Linked DNA regions of Homo sapiens: region 1 is linked to region 2. Evidence: promoter capture Hi-C in human tissues and cell types (Jung and others, 2019). All regions are on one chromosome and are shown on one strand. Each heading gives the region's core, a stretch centred on a gene start or on the middle of the fragment in contact. The rest is flanking DNA. Distances are from core to core; before and after follow the strand shown.

Region 1 (4,482 bases), core at 1,644-4,143, 45 kb after region 2:
AATTGTGGGTGGAGAGGAATATGATTTCTCATCTTAAATGTGAAAGAAAGCCTCCCTGGGAAAGCAGTAACAGTGAACAGAAGGGGCTTGTCAAAATGACTGATACTGTCTTTGCCTCTCTAACAATGTCTAGGATGACATCAACAACTCTGAGCATTTGCTTATCGTTATTTCAACTTGAGTTTTCCTTCCTTTTCCTCTTCATGCCCAATTCTTAGCTTATCTCCAGCTGCAAATTCAGAAGAGAAGACAAGTGCTAAATCGGTGCCTCACTTTGGAGCCTGAAACAGGACTACTTTTTTTTTTCTTTCCTGCTTTTAGTCCGTAAGGAGATGATAGACATTTTATAATGACACAGAGGTGCCATCATGCTATTGTGCCATCAGCATCAAAGTTAAAGAAAATTAACTTAAAAAGCTATTTTATCCATAAAAATAACTAAATGCTACCGCTATTTGTATATGCATCATTTAAGATTAGGGTCTTACCTTATTTCCTTCTTCAGATAAAAGCACAGACACTCAAATGCCATGCTATTTTTATCTATAATTAGGTTGAGTAGCTTCTTCCTTACCTTTCCTGGTTAAGTGATCAGAGAGGCAAGAGCCACAGAACCCTGACATTGGAGTGGAACTCTTGCTACTTACTACTCAGCACTTCTCTTTTTGAATGGGAAAAGAAGGAAGGAAATGAAAATCAGACTTCTAATGGTTTTACTTGAAGGAAAAGTACATGGAAGAAATAGTACATGGACGAAATATCAGGGTTGACCAAGGTCAGGAATGGCAGGCCCTTGCTTGTATTGTGCTTAGTTGTGAGAACAGAGAGACAGAAATAAGAATGTCATTTGAACGGGTATTTTCCCTTATGAGGTGACCTCTTTGTGCCCTCTGGAATAGACAAAGCCAAAACCAGTCTCCGGAGCACTTCTCAAGACTGGCACTAAGTACAGAGGGTCACATCTACATTCACAGCAGCATCAGGTGGCTGGTGCTTTTTCCCTTGGGACACTCCCTGTCCACCAAACTAATTTTTGGAGGTAGATGTGCTTGCCTCCTTTTTTCCTTTTCCCTCATTTGTATTATTATATAATAAATACATTTTTGTATTAAAAGGTGAAAATGGAGATAAAAATATTGGTTTCCTTTGATAGCCCCTCTCCCCATGCCCAAACCACAGACAGTCCTTGTGTCAAAAGGAACCACTGTGTATTTCTTTCAGACATTTTATATTTGTTATGCAAAGAGATGCATACACAAGAAAATAATGTGTTTTTGTCCCTTATCATAACAATTCTCCAACTGTATGTACTGTTATGCCAGTTTTATCTTGTCTCTAAATGATATTCCCTGGGGAATTGATATGATGTTACTTAATACCCTGTGATTTTTTTTTTTTACTGTAGAATCATGTTTGATAATGTTGTTAAATCACAGTTAGCCATTTTACATTTAATGCCTTTCCCTCCAGTCTTAACAATAATGTAATAACAGGCATCATCTAGCCTTCTTTGTTGTACTTTCCTTTAAACAACTTAAAAGCTTAGAAGGGATGGTCCCAAAGATGTCATTGTATGAATTTTGTCCTTGAGAACCCAAGTCTTTGATTGAGAGCAGTGGGGATGCTTCTTCTGCTCATGTAACCAGTTCTAGCTCTGAGCTCCTGCTTTGCCTAGGTCCATGCATTTTATGGATCTTCTCAACATTCTGAAACTTTTTGTTTTGTCAAAAATGGCTCTCAGGATTGACAGAGAGGGATTATATTTTACTGAGCTACTATATTCCAGACAATCTCATGAATAATCACATGGCATCCTGTGGCAACCCTGAGAAACAGGTGGTACTGTCCGCAGTTTATAAGGGAAACTGAAGCTCAGAAAAATGAAATAAACTGCTTGAGATTATAGACACTAAGTTGCATGTTATAAATTTAAAGACTTCGGCTCCAAAGACACCTGTGATTTTCACTGTGCCATGTTACCTTCTAACATGAACCTCCTTTTCGAAGTGCTGGTCGCTTTTCTCTTTATCCTCTGCATTTTGGCATATAGACCCTAAGCAAAGCCATCCTATTCCCATCTCCCTCTTCTCCTTAGCATAGATCATTTTTTCTTGCTTTTTTTTCACTTGAGACCTGAAACATAGAACCTAGGGATTTCCTCACTGTGGTCTCCCCTATGAGGAGCATGTTACAAGAAGGGATGTAGTATGGGAATTAAATGGGTTTGCTTGAATGTGGATAGCCTGCTTTCCGCATTTTCAGTTGTAGCAGTTTGGTGCCAGTGATGCATGGCCGGTTTAAGCAGTCGTGCTTTGCCTTTCAAGTTAGTCATCTTTGGTTTCATGGAAAGAGTCCTCCCTTAGAGGAATAACAGGTGGAAAGATCTATTAGGTTATCCTGTGCATTATGAGATTGCCTACTTCTGTGAATTTCCTGGTCCTTATTTCAAGTGATCCATGTTATAAGTCTTTGGTCTCTGTCTATAAACTAATAAGTATCACTGCTGTGATTTGCTTAGTCTCGATGTCCTCTTACTTGTTTTGAATTTTCTAGTCTAAATCAGACTCTTCCCATCAGAGAATAGAATAATATAATACTGTACAATCATGTCTTCCAGGTACTTGCCTACAGGCAGTGAATTTTTTTATTACTTTCTTTATTCATGTATTTATTTATTCATTCAGCAAATACAAATTACCTGCCTGCTATGTGCATAGCACTGTAAGAGATGCTTTATGCTGTATTGATGTATAATGTATGATACATTTATATATGATGTATGAAGATGCCAAGTAGTTAACATTCATTCAATACTTACCCTCAAAAATCTCGACTTCTAATTATTTCTGACATTAAATATATTCACTTGCAAAGGTAAAACCAATTTAAAGTCTAATAAACAGTAAGAATGATAATAACACAGGAGATATATTATAAGGCAGGCCATGATGGAAAGCCTGGTAGTCATCCTAGATGGCATGTGCTTTGTGCTCTGAAAAGATATTAAAACATATAGGAATTAGCTGGAAGAAACCATGGAAAGCTTTTCTAAGTGAGGGCAGATTTGTGGTTAGCTGTGATCAGTCTTGGCTGTAAACGGATAGTTCCATAGATAGAGACTCTCAGGCCTCCTTCATTTTCTACCACTCCATTTTTTGGATGATGAATACTCTCACTCTTTTATCTATCTGAAATTAATTTTGACTTAACTTGTGACCTATCTACTTGTTTAGTCCTCAGAAAATATGAAAAATACCCAAATTCTATAGGTTATTAGAAGACATTTTTCTTAGCTCCATGACATGGACAACTAGGTTAATCTCTCTGTGGATTAGACTTCCTATTGTAAAATAAAATATTTGAAGGCTTCTAATAATAAATGAACTTTTTCCCTGGCCAAAGATTTTCTTGGATTATTTAATATGATTATCTCATCAACACTGCATATAGGTACAATACTCTCCATTTTCCTAATAAAACAAAAATCAAGGCCAAGCAAAGCAAAGTAACATTTTCAAAGCCTCAGCCACAGTAAGATATTTCTGATTACAAATCCCATGTTTGTATTATTCCCTTGAAAGATTAAATTGGATTACTGCTAGAGACTCTTGAAATGCAACCCTTATATACAAACCATAGCCTTTCTTTAAAACTAGTTGCAATACCTCAGCTGAGTGCATGAAATGTACAAAGGGCCACCATTCTGTAGGTAAACAATAAGAGCACATTTAATATTTCTTTGCTGTTTCTATGTCTATCCTAGTCACTTTCATGATTCATCTCTAAACCCTTACCAATTCTTTTGCAGTTTTGAAAGTGTACTTCAAAATCTGCAGTGAAATTTTGATATTTTGCCTTTTCCTTTCACTTCCTATATTACCAGTTTCAGCTACTTTGGAGGCTTGTCCACCACTTCCATTTCACTGGCTCTGTACTCATTTCATTATGGTATATAGCTTTCAGGATAGATTAGTTGATGCTGCAGCAAAGAACAATATGACCTGTGTGAGTCATGTGGGAGTTCTCATCTGCATAGTTATCACTCAGGGACCCAAGTGTTAAAGAGTCCACCAACTGTGGCATTGCTGGTTCTTGAGATTGGAAAAGAGAGCTGTGGAGGACCTCACATTATAAGTATTCTGACCTGGAAGTTTTACATGTCATGTCTTGTCTGTATCCATTGCTCAGACATAGTTATATGTTATTTTATGGTACCCAGAAATAGAGGAGACAACCAAAATGTGACATACTCAGTATATGGTTATTCTGACAAGAAAAAAATGTAGTTACTATTGCAGGTATCCTCAAAGTCTGAAAGGAAGTAGAAATGGATAAGGGTGCAAAGACCTGAATAGATATTATTTACCTAGATATCAATTCATCTGTATAGTCACCCATCGGTCTGTTTATCCTTTTATGTAATTTTTTGCAAAGTCCCTCACAGATTTATGGAGTGAGATAGAGTTAATTTTTAAATCAAAG
Region 2 (4,472 bases), core at 1,262-3,761:
CAAAAGTAAACGGGGAGCAGAGCCATAAGAAATAAAATGAATCCATCTATCTACATATGAACAATACGGCTTGCAGCCAATGTCATCCACACTTGTGTAACTTCTGTCTCAAATGAATAATTAAAATCAGGCATTAAAAACTTGCCTGCTCTCTATGAACTCCCAGCAAATGGACTGCAAATGCTTTCATTTTAAAGGGATCATTCTGACAGGTGTGTTTGAAAAGAGGTTGTAAATTCTGGGAAGGAAAAATCTACTCTACTTGTACGAGCATTCTTCAGGAAGCGCTTCCATTTTGAAACCAAAATAACATAAATGGTGGTAGGGCAATGATAGACTAAAGCCAGGAAATCTGAATCCACTAATGTCTTCTTTTCCATTTTGCTTCTTCCAGCCTATATTTGGATGATAATTTATTTGGGTTCTGATTCTTTAATCTGCTTTTCCTTTCTTGGAGGAATTCCCATGTACTTATCCAGACTGGAAAGGAGGTTAGCAGGGCATAGAAAGAAGTCATTAAGTAAATGATCCTGCAAAGCTCTAAAAACCTTTCTGAGGAAAGAAAAAACTACCGCTCTGGGTTTTGACAAAGAACATTTGCAATTTGAGGAGGAGAGAGGACCTCTGGCTCTCCTCTCCTCCATCTAGAGGCCATAGCCTGCCAGACAGCCTTTCTGTTTTGGAGGATTCAGGCATAAAGGAGCTTTTGCTTGTATTTCTTCTTTAACGACAAACAGGACACTCTTTTAGGTCCTTTTAGGTACTCAAGTTTAATGGCTGAGAAGCCTGCCCTCCTTGCATTTGCACTTTTTCTGCGCTGGTCGTAAGAACAAGAACTTAGGCCGATATTTTACAACACCTCTCTGGATTGGATTGATATAACAGACGTTTTCTTGGACATTAGAAAGAATTTCATTAATTGAAGAGTAATTATCACTCTGTATTACTTTGAACTTGGCCTCATCGCAAACACGGTATACAGATTTTTCAGTGAGGTTATTATTCTAGTATGAAAATGAACAAAAATGTAACTAGAAACTGGAATCGGTACTATTTTGTTGTGTCATTCATTTATTCAATCAGTAAATATTCATTAAATAATGTAATAACATGTACCTAAGAGAATATTACGTATATGAAGACTGCAAAGAAATCTGAAACCATTTCAACCCTTAGAAGCAAACTGTCTACTTTAAAAAGGATTGGATTTTGAGAAATCCTTTGCCGTTTTCAAAGCCCATTCACCTGCTATAAATCTTCATCTGAACTTACGAATAGTAGCAGGGTGCTAGGCTGGGCAGATACTATAATCATACAATTATAGAATTTTAGGAGCGGAAGGGATTTTAAAGGTCATCTAATGTGACCATTTAATTTTAAAGCTTAGGAAGCTGACAGATTGTGATTTGTCTGAGGTCCCAAAGCAAACCAGTGGCAGAGCACCATCACAGACTTGCTATTAGGGATCTCAAAGCATGTGGCAGTAGCACTGGGCCAGGCACCAAGTGACACAGAATAACTATAAGTACTGTGCCTCCTTTCCTGTATTTATTTGTTATGCAGATATGCATTAGACTCACAATAAATATTTATTGAACTAATGACTGGCAGATTTCCTCCCATGTAGGGTACTGTGCCACGTACTGAGGAAAATGGTAAACAAAAAACAGGTCACTTCCTCCAAGTTGCTCGAAATTTGATCTTCCTGTCCTCAATGAGTTTGCAGTCTCTTAGGGAAACCAAGATATATACGCTTAAAAAACGCGTAGTGGAAAGCGTTTTCTTAAATATGATTGCATGCAGGAAGATTGGGTTCAAATTCAGTGAATGCTTTAGGAGGTTAGGAGAGAAATCTAAGCGTTAAAATTGATGGGAAAAAAAATCCCCCAAACTAACACACACACACACACACACACACACACACTCACACACGAGATCATTTAATTACATCACTCTCTGCTGCTGCCTTTCCGGGATCTCCCCCCAGGCTGGGACACACAGGCTCTGCTGCGGGTAAGGTCAAGATGCCAACTCAGGAAGCATAAGAGAGGGAAGGAGCAGAAGCCCACCCATCCCTATCTCCTCAACTAGAAAAGACCAGAAAGACGGAGAAAAAAGGAAACAGCAACATAGACTCATAGAAACAATAAAGCAGGAATAGGAAGCTCCCGACACATCGACTGCTCCGGGAGCCCGGGGTCGACCGCCCCCGCGGGCAGGGTGCGCGGACTCAGCGCCGGGACCCGCGGCCGCGGGGGCGCAGAGTGGGCGGCGGGGAGAGGCGGCGGCAGCGCCTGCGAGGCCGAGGGGAGGTCGCCGGCGGCGCCTCCAGCGCCCGGAGACCCGGTGCGCAGCGCAGCTCGGCCGCGGGACGCGGCGCCCGGAGTCCCGGCAGCGCCTGCCCTCCCTCCCGCGTCGCCCGCCAGCGCCCGCGCCCGCTCCGCCAGTGACTTCAGCTCAGCTCCACCCCCGCGCGGCGGCGGCTCGCTCCGTCCGGACCCGCGCTCGGCACAAGCCCAGCCCGGGCAAGCGGCCGCCACCTGCCCGGCGCCGCCTCCGCCCGCCCCCACCGCGGCGCAACTTGGATGGAGTTGGGGTCCTGAGCGCCGGCCCCCCACAGCCGCCAGCGCAGAGCTCGTGCCGCCACCTTCGTTCTGGGACCCCTCTCTCCGCTGCTCTTCGCTCCCGCGATGGGAAAAGTTGGCGCCGGCGGCGGCTCCCAAGCCCGGCTGAGCGCGCTCCTCGCCGGCGCGGGGCTCTTGATCCTCTGCGCCCCGGGCGTCTGCGGCGGCGGCTCCTGCTGCCCCTCGCCGCACCCCAGCTCCGCTCCACGCTCGGCCTCGACCCCTAGGGGCTTTTCCCACCAGGGGCGGCCAGGCAGGGCTCCTGCCACGCCCCTGCCCCTCGTAGTGCGTCCCCTGTTCTCAGTGGCCCCCGGGGACCGAGCGCTATCCCTGGAGCGGGCTCGGGGCACTGGGGCATCCATGGCGGTTGCTGCACGCTCCGGCCGGAGGAGACGGAGCGGAGCGGATCAGGAGAAGGCAGAACGGGGAGAGGGCGCGAGTCGGAGCCCCCGGGGAGTGCTAAGAGATGGAGGGCAGCAGGAGCCTGGGACTCGGGAGCGGGACCCGGACAAAGCCACCCGCTTCCGGATGGAGGAGCTGAGACTGACCAGCACCACGTTTGCGCTGACGGGAGACTCAGCACACAACCAAGCCATGGTCCACTGGTCTGGCCACAACAGCAGCGTGAGTAGAATGGGACTGAGGGTAAAGGGGTGGAAAGATGGAAAGGGTTAAAGTCGGCTGTGTGATCTGATGGAGAATTGGGGGGAAATAGGGTTTCTGGACATGGGAGATGCTGCAAACTGGTCTCTGCCCACTTCCCCCAAGAGTTAACATCACCTACTAGGAGACCAACCTCCCCATCTCTCCCACCAACACCATCAGAGTCCTCTCCAAATGCCACAGCTTCAAACTGAGGAGTCAAATCCCTATTTCCTGTTGCCTTGGTCGCATTGGTGTGTGGAACTGAAGACCAGGTAAACAGAGGGGTTAAAGTTCTCCTAATACAGAGATGAAAGGGTTAAATTTCCAGGCAAGCTGACATCCCCTCAAGTGACTTTCCCTTTACTTGCCAGACCTATGTACTGGCTCAAAGAAGATTAAGAAGACCCATATATGTAGGCGTTTTATTTTATTTTATTTTAATTTCATGCGGAGCTCCTAACCCCTTCTTCTCCACAAGGGAGAACTGCAGTGGAGAGTATATAAGGTGTTCTTTAGTGTATCCTCTGCTTTAGGGACCAAGTGGATGCAAGTTTCAGGGCAGGAACTCTCCAGCATCTTCTAACAGCGCTAAGCGAGGGTGTTTTGAGAACTGGGGCTTTCCAGCCCGTGAATGAGCGGTTGTTCTCTGGCATGGTCAGTCCCAGGAAGATCAGATATATCCCAGTGACAACAACTCCCTGTTCTCCCCCATTGCCTGACCTCCTCTAATGAAGAGCACAAATAAAGACTTAACATTCCCTTTATGAAGGCAGGAAAGGGATTGCTCAATTCCAGGAGGCTGGATTCCAGGGGACTTAGGATGCAAGTCCATGAGCTTTGGTCCTATCAGGAAAGGTTTTAGATTTTCAGAAAAGCTTGCATGTCTGCAATCTGAGGGAGCTATTCCTGTTTAAATTGAACCTAGAAACTTCAGTGAGTTGAAATAGTAGAGAACCAGCTTTGATTGTAATAACTAAAAGTGATTTTAAAGTGTGGAAACTTCTCCAGACATAGACAAGAACATAACAACCAAGGATGGGTAAAATGGGGGAAAAAAATTTCAAGTTTTACAGCTTCAACCAGGTAATTGAGATTGTAGTGTTTGTAATATGCACAATTTACGCAGTCTGGAACCTTTCAAAACGTTTTCTGTTGTGATGTAATTCCCAGAAACCTTCCCAGAGAAGTGCCACTTTAGTGAGT

Evidence for each region. Contacts are between HindIII fragments. The study calls those that stand out against the background at their distance.
Region 1: a contact is called between a fragment that was not itself captured here and the fragment with the promoter of SORCS1 in region 2, in 1 of the 25 tissues and cell types used here (dorsolateral prefrontal cortex).

The regions. Positions count from the first base shown.
Region 1 is chr10:107,118,534-107,123,015 of GRCh38, reverse strand. All of the region lies in intron 1 of SORCS1 (sortilin related VPS10 domain containing receptor 1), which reads left to right. Among named protein-coding and RNA genes, the nearest start is that of SORCS1, 44 kb to the left of the region's middle. The HindIII fragment of the contact is 4,505 bases long and covers 641-4,482 here.
Region 2 is chr10:107,162,745-107,167,216 of GRCh38, reverse strand. It overlaps SORCS1 (sortilin related VPS10 domain containing receptor 1), which reads left to right and starts at 2,511. Exons shown (of 26, transcript NM_052918.5): 1 at 2,511-3,248. The coding sequence starts at 2,691. RefSeq lists a silencer at 2,602-2,795. The HindIII fragment of the contact is 4,558 bases long and covers 1-4,472 here.